Regions from separate parts of the Homo sapiens genome. Here region 1 is linked to region 2. The links are contacts of gene promoters, found by promoter capture Hi-C in blood cells and fetal thymus (Javierre and others, 2016). All regions are on one chromosome and are shown on one strand. Each heading gives the region's core, a stretch centred on a gene start or on the middle of the fragment in contact. The rest is flanking DNA. Distances are from core to core; before and after follow the strand shown. Region 1 overlaps ATG4A (autophagy related 4A cysteine peptidase). Region 2 holds the start of SLC25A53 (solute carrier family 25 member 53).

The links. Contacts are between HindIII fragments. The CHiCAGO score rates a contact against its expected background, and 5 or more counts as called.
Region 1: a contact is called between a fragment that was not itself captured here and the fragment with the promoter of SLC25A53 in region 2, in 1 of 17 cell types (total B cells). The highest score is 8.1, in total B cells.

What each region holds. Positions count from the first base shown.
Region 1 is chrX:108,096,846-108,100,443 of GRCh38, reverse strand. The region is part of intron 1 of ATG4A (autophagy related 4A cysteine peptidase); the gene reads right to left. Among named protein-coding and RNA genes, the nearest start is that of ATG4A, 6.9 kb to the right of the region's middle. The HindIII fragment of the contact is 8,346 bases long and covers 1-3,598 here.
Region 2 is chrX:104,154,559-104,158,348 of GRCh38, reverse strand. SLC25A53 (solute carrier family 25 member 53) reads left to right here and starts at 1,340. Exons shown (of 2, transcript NM_001012755.5): 1 at 1,340-1,471. It also overlaps a transcript of FAM199X not described here. RefSeq lists an enhancer at 1,267-1,566. The HindIII fragment of the contact is 6,927 bases long and covers 1,130-3,790 here.

The DNA.
Region 1 (3,598 bases), core at 837-3,336, 3.9 Mb before region 2:
AATATCACTGTCCCTCTCTGCAGATGACAAGATGGTCTACATAGAAAGTCCTAAAAAACAATGAAAACAAAAGAAAAAAAATTAGAAAAATACCTTTTAACCCCCTAGAACTAATCAGTGAATTCAGCAAGGTTTCAATATGCAAAACTATCATACAAAAATCATTTATATTTCTATATACTAGCAATGAATACATGGAAACCAAAATTCAAAATAAAATACCATTAATAGTCACTCCAAAAATGAAATGGTTATGTATAATTCTAACAAAACATACAAGATTTCTATGCTGAAAATTGAACAGTGCTGATAAAATAAATAAAAGAAGATCTAAATAAAGGGAGAGACATATGGTGCTCATGGATTGGAAGACTCAGCATAGTAAAGATGTCAGTTTTCCCCAAACTGATACACAGGTCTAATACAATTCCTATCAATATCTCAGCTAACTTTTTTCAGATATAGGCAAGTTTATTCTAAAATTTATAGGGAAAGTTAAAGGAACAGGCAATATTGAAAACAATAAACTAGGAGGAATCACTCTATCAAATTTTAAGATTTATTATAGAGCTACAGTATTCAACACTGTGTGGTATGGCAGAGGGACACATACGTAGATCAATGAATCAGATTAGAAAACTCAGAAATAGATATACACAAGTACGGCATACTTATATTTTACAACAGTGCAAAAGCAATTCAATGGAGCTGAAGTAACTAGATATCAATAATCCAAAAAAATTAACCTTGACCTAAACTTCACATTTTATGCCAAATATTAACTTAAAATGGATCATGGACTTGAATGTAAAATGTAAAACTATAACATTTTCAGAAGAAAATCTAGGAGAAAATATTTGAGACCTACGACTTGGTGAAGACTTCTTAGATGTAACAACAAAAGCACAATCTATAATAGGGAAAAAAATCAATAAGTTGAATGTCATCAAAATTAAAAGCTCTTTCTCTGTGGAAAATCCTATTAAGATGAAAAGACAAGCCACAGACTGGAAGAGAATATTTGCAAGCTACATATCTGACAAAGAACTGGTATCTAGAATACATAAAGCACTCTGAAAACTCAACAGTAAAACAAACAATACAATACAATTAGAAAATGGGCCAAAGATATAAAGAGATATTTAAATGAAGAAGATATGGGGATGACAAATAAACACATGAAAAGATGTTGAACTTTATTAGCCATCAGATAAATGCAAATTAAATCAGTAATATATCACTACACACTTATCACAATGGCTAAAACTTAAAAAAAAAATAGTGAGAATACCAAATGCTGGAAAGGATGTGGAGATACTGGATCTCTCATACCATTGCTGGTGAGAATACAAAATGGTACAGTCACTTTGGAAAACTAGTTTGTCAGATTCTTTTAAAATTAAACATATATTTACCGTCCCACCTTGTAATTGCTCTCCTGGGCATTTATCTCAGAGAGATGAAAATTTCCATCTACACAAAACACTGTACTCAATGTTAATAAGAGTTCTCTTCGTAATAGCCAAAAACTGGACATTTAAAAATGTCCCTTAATAGATGAATGGTTAAAAAAACTGTGGTACCTCCATGTCGTGTAATATTTCTCAGCAATAAGAGGGAATGAACTATTGATACCAATTTGAATGAGTCTCAAATGTATTATGCTGAGTGAAAAATAGTGGAAAAGGTCACATACTTTATGATTCTAAAAATTAAATCATTTTAATTATATATAAAATTCTTAAAATGACAGTTATAGAAAAGGAGAACAAATTAGTATTTTTCAGGGGTTATCAATGGTGGGGGTAGGTGGTGGGTGTGACTATAAAGAGGTAGCACAGGAGAGATGGAATATTTCTTGATTGCGATAATGGTTAAACAAATCTACACATCATAAAATAACATAGAATTATACACACGTATCATTCCAGTATCAATTTCCTGGTTTTGATATTGTATTATAATTATGTAAAATGCAATGATTGAAGTAACTCAGATGAAGATTATATGGGGCCTTTCTGTACTATCTTTGCAAATTATTGCGAGTCTCTTATTCATAATAAAACCCTTTTAAAAAAAGAAACCACTTATAAAGCAAACAACTTAAAACAAGAGTGTGGAAGCTAAAACTCAGGGAGTAAATATAAAGTGCTTTATTATAACAGCCTGTAACAGTTTGCCAGTTTTGTGAAGGAATCGCTTTTAAATGGGGAAGGTTTGTATAGCCCAGTGACATATAACACCAAGGACATTTAACATGTGGGATCAAAACACGGGATTAAAAAAAATTAGAGCCACAGCACACACCAGGGCCTGTCAGGGGGCGAAGGCCTGGGGGAGGGATAGCATTAGGAGAAATACCTAATGTAAATGACGAGTTGATGGGTGCAGCAAACCCACATGGCACATGTATACCTATGTAACAAACCTGCACGTTGTGCACATGTACCCCAGAACTTTTATATAAAAAAACTTGTATATAAAAAAAAATTAGAGCCACAGATTAAGATGTCTCATCTTAAACCAAGCAACTGGCAACTGTAAAGTGCAATAAGCCACATAAATTACATTTGTAAGCAGTGAAAAATCAATTGCAAAAGGTTTTTGAGCCAGTTATGGAACCTTATTTAGTAAGTGCTGGGAATGGAGAAGTTTCATGGTGGATAACCCAGAACCTGTTCCTGCAACTGTCATGCAGTTAATTGATTTGCGTATACCCTCAAGTTGTTTTTCAGTATAGAATATATTCACTTCCTGTTGTGCTATGGAAAGAATATTTGCATTGGGTAAAATATTTAGTGTAATTAAAAAGGAACAAGTGGGGGGAAATGATCTCTCTCTGCACTGTCCAAGATGATTAATAATGAGTCACACAAAACTATTTACATGTAAAACAATTACAATTAAATGACATTAAAAATTCAGTTCCTAGACACATTGCAAGTCTTTAAGAGCTACATGTGGTTATGGTTACCATACTAGAACAGCGTAGATATAGAAGTTTACCATCATCACAGAAAGTTCTACTGGACAGCACTGCTCTAGAGCATTAAAATCTTGTCATTTCACCAAAATCACAGGTAGAGTTACAACCCAAAGAACTCTGACAGCATTTTGTATTGCAATATTTAGGATTATCATTTACACATAATTCCATTTTCAGCAATATTTAGCAGCATGTTGCAGTGGTTAAGTAGTAGGACTTTGGAGTAGAATTGCCTGGATTTCTATTATAGCTCCAACTAAACTGTGTGACCTTGGGCATGTAACTTCTCTCCTCTGTGCCTGTTTTCTCATTTTAAAAAAGGTAGGAGCTGCAGGATAATAGTACCTACCTCACAGAGCTGATGTGAGGATTGCATAAGATAAGCTCAGTAACTGACAATGTCATCTATAAATGCTAGTTATTATTGGCATTATTCTTCAAGCCTAGAAGATGAACTTAGCTTGTTTTAGTATCTAGAATCCAGGTGATCAGTGGAAAAGGCAATAGGGAACGTTCAATCATAAGAGCAGAAAGGGAGTCAGACCCTAACAGGGCCCCATTTGTCTCTTAATGGACATAAACAGCAACCACATCATTCCTCCATAACTTGGG
Region 2 (3,790 bases), core at 91-2,590:
ATGAGTGAGCTGGTTATGCCAATTCCTACTATAGTCACCTCCTTGGCTGCCAGCCTTCAAGGGAGAGATCTTTGCCTTAGTGGGTTCTGCCCTTCTGCTTCTGAAGAGAACCTAGTCTTTCTGTATGGGCATTCAGGCAATTCTTGGGGTGGGGAGTTGGGGGAGAGAGAGCACTTGAAAAGAATTTATGGTGGCCTTTTTCTCAGTGATATTTGAGAAATACCAAGACACATCTGAATGTATCTGAGTTTAAGTCTTGGCTCTATTTGTTATTAGCTCTGTGACCGTGGGCAAGTTATTGATTTATATGCAATCTGACTAATCTGAGTTTTCTTAGCTGCTTTAAGCAGACAAAGAGGACAGGAAAGGGTAATACACTTAAGAACCAGCAAAGGGCTATTGTGAGGATGAAGCAATAACAACAAAATGGGTTTAAAGCACTTATCATAGTGCGTGGTCCATAGAACTGCAAACGTTGGATTTTGCTTATTTTAGGACAGTACAAAGAGACTCTTTAATATACTCTTCTGACTCCAGCCAGAGTGGTAGTAATTTCCATATCAGCAGTCCCTAGAATCAGGTATTACAGCCTCAGCCTGGAGAGAACAGGGCAATCCCCTCTATCCCAGGTGAAATGATTATTATCATTTATTATTTATTAGCCAGAGGTCTTAGGTGAGATCAAATTCAATCATTATAATTTATATTTCAATATACTGCTTAACTTCATGATAGGCAATGTTCTAGGTGCTCCTCACATGTGAAATTTTAATATTTTTACTGCAACTCTGGAGGTAAGTACTATTATTATACCAATTCTACAGATGAAAAAGCCAAGGAATAGCATGCTTGAATCACTTGCCCAAGATGCCATGTTTAGATAGTGGTACAGTGGGGATTCGAACGCGGGAGCTCAGGTTTCAAAGTCTGTGCTCTTTACATATGCAGCTAAAGAGTCAGACAAGAACCAAAAGGAGATGGAGAATAGAGGGTAGAAAGGGCACAGGTTCAAGGTGAAAGGTCAGAAACTGCAAATTCGGAGTTTGGGTTGGTCTAGCAGCTTAAAGGCGTCATCATGAACTGTTCACCTAAGTAAGTTAAGCTCCTGTTTGAGAATGACTGATAAGCTTGCAAGCCAACTTACAAACAAACTGGGGAAATGTTCCAATAGATGACTAAGTCTTTTAGGTCTTTTTACCTGTGTTTTTCGGTCTCTATACCAGATTAGTCGCCTGGCTCTCCCAAACAGACCGGCCAACTGACGTAGTCGCGAAACGGTTAATGTCGAGGCGGGGGCGGGGGAGGCGGAAATAAAGAGAGCGGAAGCAAAGAGGATTGTGGGAGCTCCGTTGTGCGTCGCTTAAGTGAGGGCGGCGGATGGGCGAAGGTCCGGTGACTGCGACTGTCGCTGCTTTCTGAGGCCACAGGAAAGGGGCCGTCGGTCGCCGCCATGACAGCGAGCGAGGCGGAGGTTTGTAGCACTTCTTATGGGCTGAGGGCGTAGACACATCCTGCTTCCAGCCTAGCAGGCAAACGGGAACGGAAGTGATAGGGGATCAGAAGTTGCGAGGGGATGAGGAGTAGGGGAAACTGACAAGCGGACGGACCCGGCGGCGAGAATTGATGGCGTAGCTGTAGGATTAAGGGGCGTGTCAACTGTGTTGTGTGTGTTGACACTGAGATGTGTGAATCCCCTCATTATTTTTAGCTGGGGACAGGCGGGGTCTATGGGGGAGGGGGCGGACGGATGAATGGAGGATAAAATCAGGGCGAAAACGTGTTGTCTGCTGGGCACCAGTACATCTGAGTCACATCTCAGCAGGATGATTTTATTGGAAAGATCTAGGTCCCTGGTTTCAGATTCTGCTATTGATGCGTTGATTGATTTCCCTTACCAAAATACCAAGTACCTGCTCTGTGCTGGGTACTGCACTAGAGGCTCCGGATGAGGAAAGGAATTAGGCTTTTTCCTCGACATTTACAGCCTGCCGGTTGCTATCTGCATTTGGAGACAGGCTATTACAATACAAGGAGACAGAGATAGATCCTGTGTTATGAAAATCTATTGGGTGCCACCGAACTCATCTGGGAGTTGAGATCTGGGACGGCTCTTTGATGCGGTGATTTAACATATATTTTGAAGACAAAATAAGCAGGGCAAAAACGAAGTGCAATTTTCCTCCAAGCACCTTCCCTCCCTGTTGAGGTGAACTGGAGAACTGAGTAGCATTTAAGGCCCAAAATTAGTGTATTTCTTTTTTTTTTTCTTTCTTTCTTTCTTTTTTTTTTTTTTGATAAGGAGTCTCTCTACTTCTGTCGCCCAGGCTGGAATGCAGTGGCGTGATCTCCGCTCACTGCAACCTCCGTCTGCCGGGTTCAAGTGATTCTCCTGCCTCAGCCTCCCGGGTTGCTGGGATTAGAGGCACCCACCACCACTCCCGGCTAATTTTTATATTTTTATATTTTTAGTAGAGACGGGGTTTTACCATGTTGGCCAGGTTGGCCTCGAACTCCTGACCTCAAGTGATCCGCCTGCCTCGGCCTCCCAAAGTGCTGGTATTACAGGCATGAGCCACCGCGCCCGGTCCCCACAACTAGTTTATTTCTGGTAAGAGCATTTGCCCATCACAATGGGACTTCCAGGCGCCTCTGGAAGAATCAGTCTTACGTGAGTGCAAAGCCTGCAAGCTCTGGGTAGGACTACGATGGAGGTGCTAGTTACTTGGTTTTCCAGCAAACTCGGTTCACAGCAGGGAATTGTGCACCCACCAGAAATCCTAAGCAATATTTCTCTGAACAAGAAAAGAAGCCTCTTTGTTTACCAGAGAAACAACAGTATAGCAGTCTAAGTCAGTGGCTCTCAAACTTTCCTGTGAATCAGAATCAGATGGAGCGTTTCTTAAAACCAAGATTGCTAGGTCCCATCCACAGAGTTGCCCCTACAGTTGGTCAGGAGTGGACCCCCGAATTTACATTTCTAACTAGTTCCCAGGAGATGCTGATACTCCTGGACATGGGGCCATACTTGGAGAACTATAGGTCTAAACGGAGCTGACAATAAATTGGAAAGAATATCTCCTGGAATCTCTTAGAACCCGGGAGGCAGAGGTTGCAGTGAGCCAAGATTGCGCCACTGCACTCCAGCCTGGGCAACAGAGTGAGACTCTGTCTCAAAAAAAAAAAAAGAATATCTCCCCTAGGGAAGGCTAGGCACACTCCTAAACGTCAGGCATGTCTGAATTCAGACACAGTAGATATGAAATAAAATGGACTTATTTGACACTGCTTAGAAAATCTTTTTATTTTTATATTTGTATAATTTTATTGTATATTTACAAATTGTATACATTTATAGAGTTCAAAGTGGTATTTTATATATATACAATGTAGAATGATTAAATCAAGGTAAATAACATATTCATCACCTAAAATTTTATCTTTTTTTACACAAAAATGACTCAACATGGAATTTAATAGTTTTTTTGTGGTGCTAACATTTGAAATGTACTCTTAGCTCTTTTGGAATATGAAATTTTGAAATATCACCACCATTCTATTCTCTGTGTTTGTGGGTTCCATTGTTTTAGATTCCACATACAAGTGAGAACATGAAGTATTTGTCTTTCTGTGCCTGGCTTATTTCACTTAGCATAATGTTCTCCAGGCTCATCAATGGACAGATTTTCCTGATTTTTGAAGACTGAATAATATTTCATTGTGTATGTATAGCACATTTGCTTTATCTGTTCATCCACTGATGGACACTTAGGTTGATCCCATAACTTGGCTA